Regions from separate parts of the Homo sapiens genome. Here all the other regions are linked to region 3. Evidence: promoter capture Hi-C in 16 types of primary human blood cells and fetal thymus (Javierre and others, 2016). All regions are on one chromosome and are shown on one strand. Each heading gives the region's core, a stretch centred on a gene start or on the middle of the fragment in contact. The rest is flanking DNA. Distances are from core to core; before and after follow the strand shown. Region 1 overlaps STARD4 (StAR related lipid transfer domain containing 4). Region 2 holds the start of SLC25A46 (solute carrier family 25 member 46). Region 3 holds the start of YTHDC2 (YTH N6-methyladenosine RNA binding protein C2). Region 4 has its middle 4.3 kb from the start of FEM1C.

Evidence for each region. Contacts are between HindIII fragments. The CHiCAGO score rates a contact against its expected background, and 5 or more counts as called.
Region 1: a contact is called between a fragment that was not itself captured here and the fragment with the promoter of YTHDC2 in region 3, in 1 of 17 cell types (total B cells). The highest score is 5.0, in total B cells.
Region 2: the fragment with the promoter of SLC25A46 here is called in contact with the fragment with the promoter of YTHDC2 in region 3 in 3 of 17 cell types (total B cells, naive CD8 T cells and naive B cells); the score reaches 5.7 in total B cells.
Region 4: a fragment that was not itself captured here is called in contact with the fragment with the promoter of YTHDC2 in region 3 in 4 of 17 cell types (naive CD4 T cells, naive CD8 T cells, fetal thymus and 1 more); the score reaches 8.1 in naive CD4 T cells.

Annotation. Positions count from the first base shown.
Region 1 is chr5:111,507,330-111,510,927 of GRCh38, reverse strand. It overlaps STARD4 (StAR related lipid transfer domain containing 4), which reads left to right. Exons shown (of 6, transcript NM_139164.3): 2 at 3,486-3,598. The coding sequence starts at 3,495. Among named protein-coding and RNA genes, the nearest start is that of STARD4-AS1, 3.1 kb to the left of the region's middle. RefSeq lists an enhancer at 1,625-1,744. The HindIII fragment of the contact is 2,144 bases long and covers 952-3,095 here.
Region 2 is chr5:110,737,164-110,740,580 of GRCh38, reverse strand. It overlaps SLC25A46 (solute carrier family 25 member 46), which reads right to left and starts at 1,574. Exons shown (of 8, transcript NM_138773.4): 1 at 1,179-1,574. The coding sequence starts at 1,461. It also overlaps a transcript of TMEM232 not described here. RefSeq lists enhancers at 1-237, 1,482-1,551, 1,562-1,691, 1,942-1,991. The HindIII fragment of the contact is 3,989 bases long and covers 1-3,417 here.
Region 3 is chr5:113,512,286-113,515,793 of GRCh38, reverse strand. It overlaps YTHDC2 (YTH N6-methyladenosine RNA binding protein C2), which reads right to left and starts at 2,100. Exons shown (of 30, transcript NM_022828.5): 1 at 1,712-2,100; 2 at 432-522. The coding sequence starts at 1,898. It overlaps LOC124901046 (a long non-coding RNA gene), which reads left to right and starts at 2,136. Exons shown (of 2, transcript XR_007058905.1): 1 at 2,136-2,363; 2 at 2,854-3,508. RefSeq lists a silencer at 1,615-1,844 and enhancers at 1,797-2,298, 2,295-2,344. The HindIII fragment of the contact is 3,291 bases long and covers 119-3,409 here.
Region 4 is chr5:115,547,352-115,550,824 of GRCh38, reverse strand. No RefSeq gene overlaps it. Among named protein-coding and RNA genes, the nearest start is that of FEM1C, 4.3 kb to the right of the region's middle. The HindIII fragment of the contact is 7,329 bases long and covers 1-3,473 here.

The DNA.
Region 1 (3,598 bases), core at 774-3,273, 2.0 Mb after region 3:
AAGTGAATTCTGACCTAGTCGTACTACAAAAGTCCAAACAGATTTTTATGGCATTCACTTTACATTACAGGTTAAATGTTTTATTATGTTCCATATTTAAAATAGAACCTATGCCATCTCACTGTGACAGATATTTGAGAATAATTGGAGTTGGATTGGTCAAGACTATGGTGCTGATAGATGGCCTCAAGAAAAGTAACTTGAGACAGCTGCCCTCCCTATGATGGCAGCCACTATCACCACTAGTGATAGCTTCAAAAGCATGGGCATAGAAAACATGAACAAAAAGATTAAAGGAAAAACATGGAGGTGGACATTACTCAGCATTTGGCCATGGGACTGACAAGAGTATAAAATCTTTTATATGAACCTATTATATTCTGATAAGGTTAAGTGGTGCCTGTTCTCTCTGACGTGTAAATGTTAGAGTTGGATAATTTCCTGATATAAGGTCAAGATAAGGGAATAAAAGACTGAATTAGTAAAAGGAAGTTCAGAATGGGTTCAGAATGGCATTTAAAACATTTACCTGACATTCTCCACAGTTGGAGATTGCAGGAGGGCAAATTAGGTGTTTTCCTCTCAATTAATGTCAGTACCCTGTTATATTAGGAGAGAGAGCCAAGACCTTGATAACCCATCTCCCCCAACCCTCTTGGTTCTAGAATATATTAATATTTTGAGAAATGCTCAATTATGCCTGTTTACACAGAGGTAGCAGTTTTGATGGCAATGATTATTTCATTATGGACTTAATCTTGATGAAAATAATCCATGCAAGACTTAACTGTTTGGTTAAATACATTGCTGGACATATTTAATCAGAGAGAGCTTTCTGATTTTGTACTTCTTTCTCTTCCTTTCCTACCTCCCACTGCACCACTCTTAAAAAGGCTATTAATAGAATTTTTTAATGTTTTAGTTTTTGTTGTTGTTATTTCTGTTAAAGCTTAAGGGTGGAATAAGTCAATTTGAGAGTAAAATCTGAATTCCATCTGTTTCTGTAGTTCTAGGACCTGGTATATAATAGATGCTTGATAAATATTTAATAGTAGTCCTTCTTGAGAAATGGTGTTTCATTATGGTAAAGGAAGTTTTAGTTATTCAGAAGCTCTAGGATTGGCGTAAATGGGCATACTTTAGATATCTTGAGGTCTTCCATAAGTGAGAATGGTAGCTTATTGTCTATACATTTTTCCATTTTTTATTCACTGTGTTCCTACTGAGTGCTAGACGTAAGGAGAATTAATATTGAACAAGCCAGATTTCCTACCCCCCAAAGATTTTACAGTTAAACGGGAGAAGATAACAAGTGAATAATTACAGTACAGAGTTGCTGTCAGAAAATATTGGAGGGGGAACTAACCCAGGTTCAGGGGAATCCAGGAAAGATAAGTGGAAATTAGGTAATGAAAATATGCCACATTATAAAAGGGCCTGTAAGCTATAGTAAGGAGCTTGAACTTTATACTGATCAGTATGAATTACTAAGTCAAGTACCTTAAAGTTGCAGATTCTCATCTCTTCTAGGTAGCTAGCTTTCTAGGTAACTTTCCGTGCACTGGATTTGCCCAGTGATAATGTTTGCTTATGATAATAATAACTTTCTGTTTCACCTTTGATTTCTATCAAAAAGTTTTGCATAAATACTCTTATCTGCCAACCACAGGAACCTAGCAGGTGACCTTTGGGTTTAAAGAATATGTTTAATCATAGTGATCCCTGTAATAGATAAATTAAATCTCTTTTACAAGCCTTCTGCAAGAACTTCTGCTTGTTTGTGGCATACTCTTGAATAAAGTTATTGAACTGGCTATCAAGTTGACAGCCTCTTGAATGGAAATTAGGTATATTCTTGACTGAGAGACTTTTTGAATGAGCTCATCAACTTTTCATCCGTGGATTGGATCTATACTTATTATATATTTTGCATCACTTACATAGATCCTAAAAGTTATATTGAATTTTCTTTGTATACTTTCCCATGTTTCTACATAATTTTAGTATTTATAAATTTTAATGGCTTATATGCTCTAATTAGTGGTATTTAAATATTGGCTACAACCTTAATTTATTTCTGTCACTTTAATTTTTAGATCAGTTAGTTCTGATCTCTGGCTAGACAACAGAATAATTAGTGAGACTATTTTAAAGGACCTACATTTCTGAGGCCCATTCCAGAACAAAGCCACTGAATTAGACTATTTGGCACTGGGCCCTAAAATCTAACACCTAAAAGCAGCGACAACTAGTACAAAGCATAAAAAGGTGATTCTGATGTGTGCATCCATAGTTGACAACTGCAGCCTTATTCCCATAGAGGGTGATTTCATTTAGATTAGGAGATTTCATTTAGATGTTTTCTTGACCTCCTTTCCAGCAATTTGATGGTTCTGTAATGGGCAACTTTACCCCTAAAACTCTTTTCTTCTTTAGCCTTTTACTGAAGATGGGAGGAATAGAGATAGAATAGTGAAAAGTAGGAATTATGCTAAGAAATTGGTGCCCTGGCACCAAAAGAAGACAAAGACCAAGTAATTCTTGTTTTGAGACAATAACATATCAACAAAATAAGGGCCTACTATGTGCCAGGCAGTGTTCTAGGTGGTGGAGTTATAGTGGTGAATAAGAAAAGGACCTCTATGCTATTAGTTAGGAATGAGGTGGTCAAAGAGTAGAATCATACACCTATAAATAAGTTATTATATTGTCAGATAATGATAAGCACTATGAAGAAAATAACGATGTAATAGTAACTTAAGAAGGCTTTATGAAGGATAGGAGGTTTAAACTGAAATTGGCATTACATTGTTATTAGTGATGCTAAGATTTGGGATCTAGCCGTATCAAAGACCACAAGTCAGCGATAAGCTAGCCTGTTTGAGGGACAGAAAGAAAACCAGTGTAGAATACTGTAGACAATGAGGTATGATGGTGTTAAAAGGAACCTATTCTTATTAAGGGCAATTCCAAGCCTTTTGACTTGAGAACTTGGGCTCAATTGCCATTTTAATAGTAAATTGTTAAAATGAGGAATACTGTGACAAATTGAGGGAAGCCAGGGGAGGCAAGAGATTCCCTTTAGGCTTGAAGCTTTAAGTAGGCTTCTGGATCTGGGATTTTTGAGCTCATTGAAACAAAGAGGACTGGAGGTAAATGTTTGAGAGTTAACAGCATATCTATATATGAGATACAATTGCTTCCCCTTCCTCCTGTCTTCTCTTCTACTTTCTGTATGAGTGATTTTAATTGTAAAAAATATGTAATTCTCACCTCTGGCTATGGGTTATTCATCTTGGGAGCAATTAGAAAAAAACTATGCCCGGGTCCTACTCTCAGAGATTATGATTAGTTGATTTGGGGTGAGGGTAGCTATCTTTTATAGCTCTGGTAGGTTATTATATTGTGAAACCAGATTCGAGACCCACTGGCCTATTGCCTCAAACTGTGGTATTTGCTGATGCTAATCTTGGTCTCCATAACAGAGAGAAGTAATGGAAGGCCTGTCTGATGTTGCTTCTTTTGCAACTAAACTTAAAAACACTCTCATCCAGTACCATAGCATTGAAGAAGATAAGTGGCGAGTTGCTAAGAAAAC
Region 2 (3,417 bases), core at 325-2,824, 2.8 Mb after region 3:
GTTTACTGTGTAAGTCTCTTAGGTGTCTATCTTTGTTGCAAAATTAACATTCACCCACCTGTTAAGGCTGCAAAATAAACCCCTGCTTGTGTCAAGGAACTCCTCCTCATTGTAACCACCAAAGCATAACTTTAAACCGGGAAGAGTCAAAAAGCTAATTGTATGACAATTAGCTAGGTAAGTCATCTATCTTTCTTCACATCCTCATTTACTCACTAGACATTCGTTAGTCTGTTCTTCTTAGTTAAATATTATTGTACTTCCAAGTCAAAGTCGAGGAAATAAGAATAAAGCTGATTTCTACAATAAATTTAATATTAATACCATTAATCTATTATTCTAACAATTCCAGAAGAATAGAAAGAGGTAGCCATTATTCACATTTTATGAATAAAAAAGGATGTTGAAAATATCTACATCATGCAGTGTTGCAGCTTTTCTGACATCCCATGGAGAATAATTATGTCATGATTCCGAAGTCCTATCTTGAAATTGTATCAGTGTTTCTAACTTTTATATGTAGTTTTTAGGTCAGCAGAAGGAAAGCAGAAAGGAAAATTATAGGAAGGAAACTTTCTAGACTGGGGATCTGAAAAGCAGACAAAACTCCTGTGTTCAAAAAGGAAAAGGAAGGAAACTTTTTTTTTTTAGCCTATGTGTCCCATACAGGATTCTTCTACACATCTTAAAGATGAGAAAACTGAGGGCTCACAGAGGTTAAGTTGTTCAGATTACGAGTGGCACAACCAAGTTTGAACCCAAGTATGCTTATGCTGAAAGGCTTCTCTTTTCAGAACACAAAACTACAAGTAAACACATTAATTAATTAATTAAATCAAGAAAATAGAGCTGCCAAAGTGAATCAGGGAACAGTTAATAATCCAATCTCCTTTTTAACTCAGACCATCAGTTGAGACACCAAAACCTCTAAAAATTCCTGCTATGCACCCCATAGCTAAGGCAGATGTCTTTTTTGGAGTTGATCCAGGAGAATTCGTTTGTGAGGAAGAGGAGGCCAGCCTCAGGGGCAGAGGACCAAAGGAGGGCAAAGGGTGTGGCGCGCGATAGGATGAGAAGGAATAGGAGGCGGGATCCTCTGCGCCGCTTCCGGGGTCTGCAGGCCGCAAGCCGCGGCCCCAGTAACCCCTCATCCCTGTGTCGGTCCCCATGCTTCTCACCACTGCTCTGCCCCTGCACACTGCCGCCGCCGCCACTGGAAAAGGGTTCCTCCGTGGGGCCTTCGTACGGGGTGGAGGTGGTGGGCACGCCGTAGGGCGGGCTCTTCTCGCCCCAGTGCAGGTTGCGGCTGCCGGGGATATCTGGGGGAGTCGTCACCCAGTGGCCCAGGTCCGACCCGGTGCTGAAGGACCTTGCAGGGAAGGCGCCGCCAAAGCCCTGCTCGTCCCGGGCACCACCCCGGTAGCCCAAGCCATCAAATCCGTCCGGGCGCCGCGGATGCATCGCAGCGGGGGCAGGATGACGCGAGCCCGCCCGGAGCCCACCACCACCGGGGCCACCACGACCTAAGCACACACAGCTTCCCGTCGGCCGCCGCCGCGTCAGGGGTAAATTCTGACAACCGGAAGTCACGTTGGAAACCCGGAAGTCTTCGGAGCACGTGATTATAGCCTCTTCCGGCAACCATTAAAGGGCACGGTTGCTAGGGAGACGCGGCGGTAACCTGGACCTTAAAAGTTTGTTGTCGTTAGGGAATAGGTGGGAATATGGTTGTGGGATTAATGAAACACAGTACCAAAGAGATTCCAGAAAGAGAACTGGTGTAGGAATAGGGCCTGCATGGGAGGAGTTCAAAGATGCTTCTTGGAGGGAGCCGATAACCCGCGGGTGGAGCCTACCCGGTGAGATCCCGGCCAGAAATACCCCATGTCACAGCTACGCCCCAGATCTCAGTGTTTTCTCACGGGCCTGGTGCCTCGCCTGCTCCGAGGAAGCTAGTAGAGGTTGGAGTTGTGGAGGGTTAATAACGTTCCACCTAGCTTTGTCTCCCGCACTTGGGGTTTTGGATCAAATCTATTGAGAGATATGGTACCGCCCAGTGAACGCGAAAGTACTGTGGACCACCAGAGCAAGCATTTTAAAAGTTGAAGTGCACGTCGGGGGTGAAAGAAACCCACGTACTCGAATACTGTCCTCCTGGAGTTAGAAATTACGCGTTTTCCTTTTCTAAGGCTGTAAAGAAACTATAGTTTTCTGTCGTATTTTTTTCTGATGTGTCTAAATCACTCAGGGTATTGAAATCCCAGTTATATCGTTCAAAATTGGGACCTCTAATTGAATAACTGAGAGGACTACTGTAGAGCGTCCCCTACTACCTGTTTTCATTAGCTCCACGGGCTCTTGGGCCAGGCTCCCTCCCCAGATCTGAGGAAGACTTCCATGGTTTCATCCTATGTTCCTTCAACTCGTTGGAAGCCCAGGATTCCTAGAGCTTTTCCAAGAGAACTCTGACGTGCAGTTCTCGATCTTCCAGATGCGAACCTTGATTGAGAGTGATAATCAACTTTGTTTTGATTGAACTGACATTTTTTTCTGTGGTTTTATCACTTTTTATTTTTTATGGGTGTATAGTAGGTGTATATATTTATGGGTTACATGAGATATTTTGATAGCGTACATTAAAATGTATAATTAACATTTTTAAATAACGAATTGACATTCTTAAATTTGATTGCGATGCAGCTTGGGCAAAGGTGTTGAGTCTCTTGACTGTATAAAATTTAAATGTCCATATAGTAAATTTTAAAATATATAGTAATCACAATTGAAAGGCAAATCACAAACAGAAAAATGACATTTTAACATGGTTTAAACAATGGAACAGTAGCTTTAATGTACAAAGAGTTCATACCAATGAATAAAGGCAAATCAGAAATATGAGCAAAGGACATGTAGAGGCAATTCATACAAAAAAAGGAAGTGTAAATAGATAATATCATATAAAAAGTCCTTTACTAATTGAAAAAAGGTAAATCTTAATTATCTTTCACGTATTAAGGTGTTTAAAAGGGAAAATGCACATTGTCTTTCCAGGTGAGAAGAAAGTAGCTTTCATTAATTTCTGAAGTGATATAAAACATAACTTTCTGATGGAGAGCAGTTTGGCACTATGTATCAAAAACTGTAAAAATAACCATATTTTTTGACTCCAAAATCTTAGAAAACAAATATAGGGGTTTTTTACATGTTTCTGGCATGGATAACATACATATGTTTATGGCATGCTTGCTCATAATAGGAAAAAAATAAGCAGGAATGCAAATATCAAATAATTATTATTGATTAATAATTTATTATTTAAAGTGTATATCCATACAGTTGTTTAACAAAAATATATTTATTAAGCACCTATCTCGTGTCAGATACTATTTTAAGCAATAAGGATAGAATGATAAATAA
Region 3 (3,508 bases), core at 851-3,350:
TTGTCTTGTCATTTTTTAAATAAATTCATTGTTCTTTATTAAGATGCCACATAAGCCCCATGTTTGAGTTACTATCGAGTTCTCCCCTATGTATGCATGATGCATGTCTTAATAAGCTTATGTTTTTCTCTTGTTAATATGTCTTTTATCAGTCTAATTTGCAGGGTCCCAGCCAAGGAACCTAAGCTGGGTAGAAGAAAAAGCATTTTCCTAGGGAAAAACAAAACAAAACAAAAAAGGGGGGAAGAGGTAGACAGAGGGAAGAGGAAAGAGTTGAATTTGGTACAGACCTGAATCTTTTATCTACATATGATACAATTAAGAATGTGAAGTTAAAACAGTAATAAGTACTTAAATGTACTCAGAAACGTTTCTCCCTTTTTTGGGCAAATAATCTTTTTTAAAAAAAATAAGAAAAGCTACCAGCTTACCCTTTACTTTTAGAGACCAAACCAAGAGACTGACTGAGTCGATGAATAAAGGCTCTTTCAGTACTGGTCAAAGAAGAAGGAAATTCCATTTCTACACGGAAAAAAAACAAAGTAGTAAAATTTGTAGATAGGCAATTTTCTCTCAAGTAAAACACACAGATACAAAATATGAAAAACATACATAGACAATCAAATTTATTATACTTTATTTGAGGTTAACTTTATATTTCATATTCTATTTATGTAAATTAATAAAATTAAGATATTTTATTAATTCAATAACTACTGAATGTCTATCAGAATTCTGATATTAATAAAAAGACAGCTATGTATTAAACCTAAATGTGATAAAGGCCTCTGATATTCACCAAAAACGACTCCTCTTACTTGTTCTGGAATTTTGAGTTGGTATAATGACTGAACATATTTAACTTGGTCCCTACTTGTTTAGTTAACAAAATGTTTATTTTCTTCAATGATGAGATATGTTCAAATATTATGAATTCTCAACATGAAACTCCATTGTCTTTGCTTTCAAAACTGTACAGAATTCGTATTTCACTATTTCAGAGGGATTTGTTATATATTGCTGAGGCTTTCTCTTTTTTTAATGTGAATTTAGAATCTCTCTGTCTAGAACATTCCCCGTTTTGGACTATAAGATTCCAGAGTAAGAGGTCCCCTAACTAAGCCAGCAGGTCCGAATGAGCCCTCAACAGACTGCACAGGTCACCGCAGGTCAGTTGCTGGTTCTGCATTATATGACCCAAGACAAGTGGCTATCTAACCTCAAGAGGTGTGGAAGATGCTTCGTGTGCCAAACAAGTTTAATTTAAGTGGGTAGCGTGATGCTTCAGGGTCCAAACGTATTGCTGGTGCATTTATTTATATGTTTGATTTCTTTCTGCTCTTCTACATCTGTAGCTTAAACGTGCCACAATTAGGTGACACCCCCTTAAAAAGGGTTAGGGCTAACCAATATCTGAAACACGGTGGCTTAACCGCCCAAGGCTGCTGAAAGACGCGGGGGAAAAACACTTTCAGCTAGGGAGCAAAGTGCCCATAACCCCATTGATCCGCAGAGCACCTCGCATTCCACCGCAGGGCCAACAGCCGCGTTCCAGACCCGGGTGCCGCCGCTGAGGCCCGCCCCGGACGGTGGCCCGGGTCTTCCCTCCCTCTTCGGAGGCACCCCCATCACTCGGTGGGCCGCCGTTTGGGGGGCGCTGGGGTGAGGGGGGTATCCTGACTGCCAGCATGGTCCCTGTCCGGAACCTCACCTCTCTGGTCCCCGTATCGGAAGCGCTCCAGCGCGATATTGACTGCGATCTTCACCTCCTCATCAATGCGAATGTCCTTCAGCCCCTTGGCCCGGCCGCCGCCCCCAGGGCCACAAGGCGAGGGGCCGCCGCCTCCGCCACCGCCAGGAGCCGGCTGCCGCGGGGAGACGCTGCTCGGCCTGGACATTGCCCTGAAGAGATGGTCTCTCCGCACGGGAGCGGCCAGGCCTGCTAGCTGACAGCCAATGACAAAGACCGTGGGAATCCGGGGCCACTACCGGGAAGCTCCGGAGACGGCCTGTGTTGGGCTGAGGTCACCAGAAAGGCCTCAGTCACCGCCACAGCAGAAGTGAAGCCTGCGCCATTGATATCACGGCCAGGCGAGGAGCGCGGGCGTAATGACGTCACCAGGGCCGGCGCCCGTGACCTCAGCGCGGCCGCCGCTGCGCGCCTAAAGGAGGCTGTCTGCGGAGCTATGGTGCGGTTCTCTTCCCGCGCCGCCCACCAAGGGTCGCTCCTCATCTTCTTATTCACTCACTTGCTACTTCGTTTAGTCCTTCATTAATTCCTGCAGTAAGCATGTATGGGCTTCTACTGTGGACCTGGCATTATGCCACGCCTTCGATGTACATTGGAGAACCAGAGAGCCAAGGTTCCTACCTTCATGGAGTTTATATTTTAGTGGGAGGAGGGTTGCCAGATTTAGCAAATAAAAATACAGAATGCTTAATAATTTGCATTTCAGATAAACGAATAATTTTTAGTGTATATATTTCCCATGCAATATTTGGAAAAATATCATAAAAAATACATATACTAAAGAATGAGCCACTGTTGTGTGTCTTGCATTCTTCCCTTTTCTGAATGGGAGATTTTAATGCAAGTATGCCACCCTTGCTCTATCACGCTACACAGGGTAGCTGAGTGGGGGCAGGTATGTAGTACATATTTACATAGTTCATGAGTTACCTGGCAATGAGGATATACATCTGGATCTAATAAAGAGGACTGTGTATCAACAACAGATCCTGGATGCAGTGACTAGATAGAATTCCAGGTGTCTGGGGAGGGTATATGTGTATTCTGTGTGTGGTAAGAAGGGGGCGGAATATTTGGTGACAAGAAGTATCTTTTCTTCCTAGGCATTATATTTCCCAACTCTCCTGCAGTTAGCTGGGGGCCACATGGCTGAGTTCCGGCCATTGGAATGTTGCTGGAACTGATGTATACCACTTCCAGGATTGGTCTATAACACCTTCCTTGAATCTTCCCTTCTCTGTCTTTCCTGGTCTTCTGGAAGTTCTTAGACAACGGTGGAACCACTAGATAGATAACAGGTTCCCGATTCCCTGAACGAGTGTGATAGAGTGTCCTCACCAACCCACATTGGAATATGACATGGGTAAGAAATAATTCTTAGTTGTGGTAAACTGCTGAGATTTGGGAAGATTTTTTTTTGTAACATTATGGTAAATTGTTGAATTCATCAAAGGTATGGCCTTTGATGAATCACACATTCCTCTGTTCACACCCTTGTATTCTTCCTTCCCACATGGACTCTGTCTTTGGCTATGTAACTTGCTTTGGCCATTGGGACATCAGCAAATACGAGATAAGCAGGGGCTTGAAAGGTGTTTGTGCATTAAGGCTTAGCCTGTTTTGCTGCTGAGAATTCTTCTTCCACAAAGTAAAGAAGCTTAGGCTAGCCCACTGACAACTATGGCCCAATCATCCACCAGCACCAAGGGCAAGACGTGAAAAAGGCCATAATGGAAAGTCTAGTCTTAGAAAAGCTGC
Region 4 (3,473 bases), core at 162-2,661, 2.0 Mb before region 3:
AACCTTCACCTCCTTCCCAGATTTGCTCAAGCAGAGTTAGCAGCTCTGTTCTTTGGGCTCTCACTGTTGTTTATACACATATTTTGTTTTCATCTGTTTATAGCTACATTTCTCCTACAGACCATCAATTCCTCAAAAGTAGAGATTATGTCATATTCATCCAGTATCTAACATAGTACATAATAGGATTCCATAACTTTGTTTTATTGGGGTTTTTTTTGTTGTTGTTTTGTTTTGTTTTTAGACAGGGTCTGGCTCTGTCACTCAGGCTGGAGTGCAGTGGCGCAATCTCAGCTCACTGCAACCTCCGCTTCCCAGACTCAAGCCATCCTCTCACCTCACCCTCCTGAGTAGCTGGGACTACAGGTGTGCATCACCATGCCTGCCTAATTTTTGTATTTTTTGTAGAAATGGAGTTTTGCTATGTTGCCCAGACTGGTCTTGAACTCCTGAGCTCAAGCAGTCTGACAGCCTAGACCTCCCAAAGTGCTGGGATTCCAGGATTCAATAATTTTTAAGGTGGTGAATGAATTTATGACAATTAAAATATCTCACCTTGAGCAAATTATCAGTGTTAATAAAGCGGACTTATATGAGAAAGACATTTCTAAATAGCACAAGAAGCGTACACCTTGCTATGCTATTTTTGTGTAACTTTTAAATTCATGAAAGTAGATTCTTTTCATACTTTTCTAAATAGAACTATGCCCAGTTAGTTACCAAAAACTAGAGATTTAAAAAAAATTCATCCTGGCCATTTCTCAAATTAGAACAAGTTACCAAAGTATACCAAAACCGTGCAAGCAAACTGTTTCACTGAGGTTTCTGGTTTAAATATAGACTGGCAGGAATTAAATGTTTGACAATCCCCAGAAGGAATACTATAGAAGGAATGTTCTACTAATTCAAGGATATTGCACAGACCAAAAAAATCCCAAGGGTAGCCAGGTAAATTTGGGAAACTTGGCGGTATCATTTAACACATACAAAACCAGTAAGAATTTTCAAAAAATATAATATCAAGTGGGTTCAATGTTTGGTGAAGTCAATAGTGCCTTGCTGGTGGTGACAGATTGGTCTAAGTCTTCTAGGAAATAGTATAACAATGTATATGAAAAGCCAAAAAGACATTCTGTAATCCAACTCTTGGAAATTTATCCCAAGGCAATATGTGAGAAGAAGAAAACAACTTATAGGCCTGAAAATGTTCATTGTTCTATAATTAGGGTGTCCCCTTTTTGCTGATCCAATTCCTCCTCCCCATCAGCCTTTCAGGTAAGGGGTAATGTCTCCTCTGGGCTTACATTATAAAGCCTTGGGCCTAGGGAAATGCTCTGGATGCAAGTAACACTTTGCTCCCCCGTCGGGGAAGCCTGAATATTCACCTTGGCTCCCGGAAGTGGTTCCCCTTTTTGTCTGTCATCTCTGGGTACTTACCTGAATGGGTAATTCAGAGGCTGTCTCTGGTCCCTTTCCCCTTTTCCAGTCTTTGGCTCCCCCTACAGACCCCTTAAAAATGAGTCTTCCTGTTATGCCCCAGTAGCATTCTGTGGCTTTCAGGAAGACAGTAATTGCTGATTTAACCAGACATCAAAGTCTTAATAACCAAACCAATCCAAAGCAAACCAACCAAACCAAACAAAAAAGTTGTCCCTCCCATTGATGGAAGGTAGAAAAGAGGTGGGCATTTAGAAACACAATGTAAAATCTATATAAAAGGAAATTTAGTTGATTTTCTATTTAAGAAAAAAAAAATCAAAGATTGGAAGAACAAATGTTCTTTAGAAATGGAAATGACTTCCAATAGGGGGTTGTGAATAAGTCTCCAAACATTTCAATTAAGTCTTCAAACATTTTTACTCATGCACATGAGATGCTATCTACCCTCCTACATATTTTTCAATTGTCACCTAAAATTTTTCATCATAAGTTTAAGTATTCGCAAAGGTTGCAATTTTCCGCAAAATGTAAAAATTAACATTTTTAAATAAAACATGCTTTTAAATGAATCCAACGAAATCTAAATATCATAGCAGTTATGCTTACTATGAACCATTTAAAAAAATATATGAACAAATTATTATTTACCTATAGGATATTTTTACATAATTTATTTTCTCTTCGCATTTATAATTCCATTCCACATCCCATTCCTCAGGAATATATCCTAATTAATGTACTTTTATGTTTGAATATGTTTTTTGTTTTTGTTTTTGAGACAGTATCTCGCTCTGTTACCTAGGCTAGACTGCAGTGGTGCAATCACAGCTCACTGAAGCCTCAACCTCCCAGGCTCAAGTGATCCTCCCACCTCAGCCTCTGGAGTAGCTGGGACTGCAAGCATGTACTTCCATGCTTGGCTAATTTTTAAGTTTTTTGTAGAGACAGGGTCTCACTCTGTTGCCCAGCCTGGTCTTGAACTTCTGGGCTCAAGCAATCCTCCTGCCTGGGCCTCCCAAAATGCTGGGATTACAGGCGTGAGCCACTATGCCTAGCTGAATGTGTTTTATGAATCACTCTATTATATTTCTCTGCAATGAAAATACATATAAAAGCCAGGCACAGTGGCTCATGCCTGTTATCCCAGCATTTTGGGAGACCAAGGTGGGTGGATCACCTGAGGTCAGGAGTTCAAGACCAGCCTGGCCAACATGGCGAAACCCCGTCTCTACTAAAAAATACAAAAATTAACTGGGCGTGGTGGCAGGCACCTGTAATCCCAGCTACTCAGGAGGCTGAGGCAGGGATAATTGCTTGAACCTGGGAGGCAGAGGTTGCAGTGAGCCGTGATCGTGCCATTGCACTCTAGCCTGGGTGACAACAGGGAAAACTCTGTCACAAAAAAAAAATATACATATATATATATATATATATATATATATATATACACACACACACACACACATATAAAGAAATACATATAAGTTGAAATTTAAGTTTCTTATAACTAAAGACCCTAGGTGCTCATTTTCTTCCAGATTGAGGCATCATTGTATTTATTAGTAATTTTCAAGTATTCAAAACAATACAAAATATAAATTTTTTGATTATTAAATGTGATGTTTTACAATTAAGTGCACACATTTATTGTTAAATACTACTTCTTACTAGAATGAGACAAAGTTCAGATTCAATGTTTTCTCAATTTTTCATTTTTATAAATTCTGAGAAAATGTTTTCACATTAATAAGTAGATGGAGGCTGGGTGTAGTGGCACACACGTGTAGTCCCAGCACTTTGGGAGGGGGAGGCAGGTGGATTGCTTGAGCTCAGGAGTTCAACACTTGCCTGGGCAACATGGTGAAATGCTGTCTTTACAAAAAAAAAAAAAAAAAATTGCCAGGTGTAGTAGTGCATGCCTATTGTCCCAGCTACTTGGGAGGCTGAGATGGGAGGATCACTTGAGCCCAGGAGGTCGAGGCTACAGTGAGCTGAGATTGTGCCACTGTACTCCAGCCTGGGCAACAGAGAAA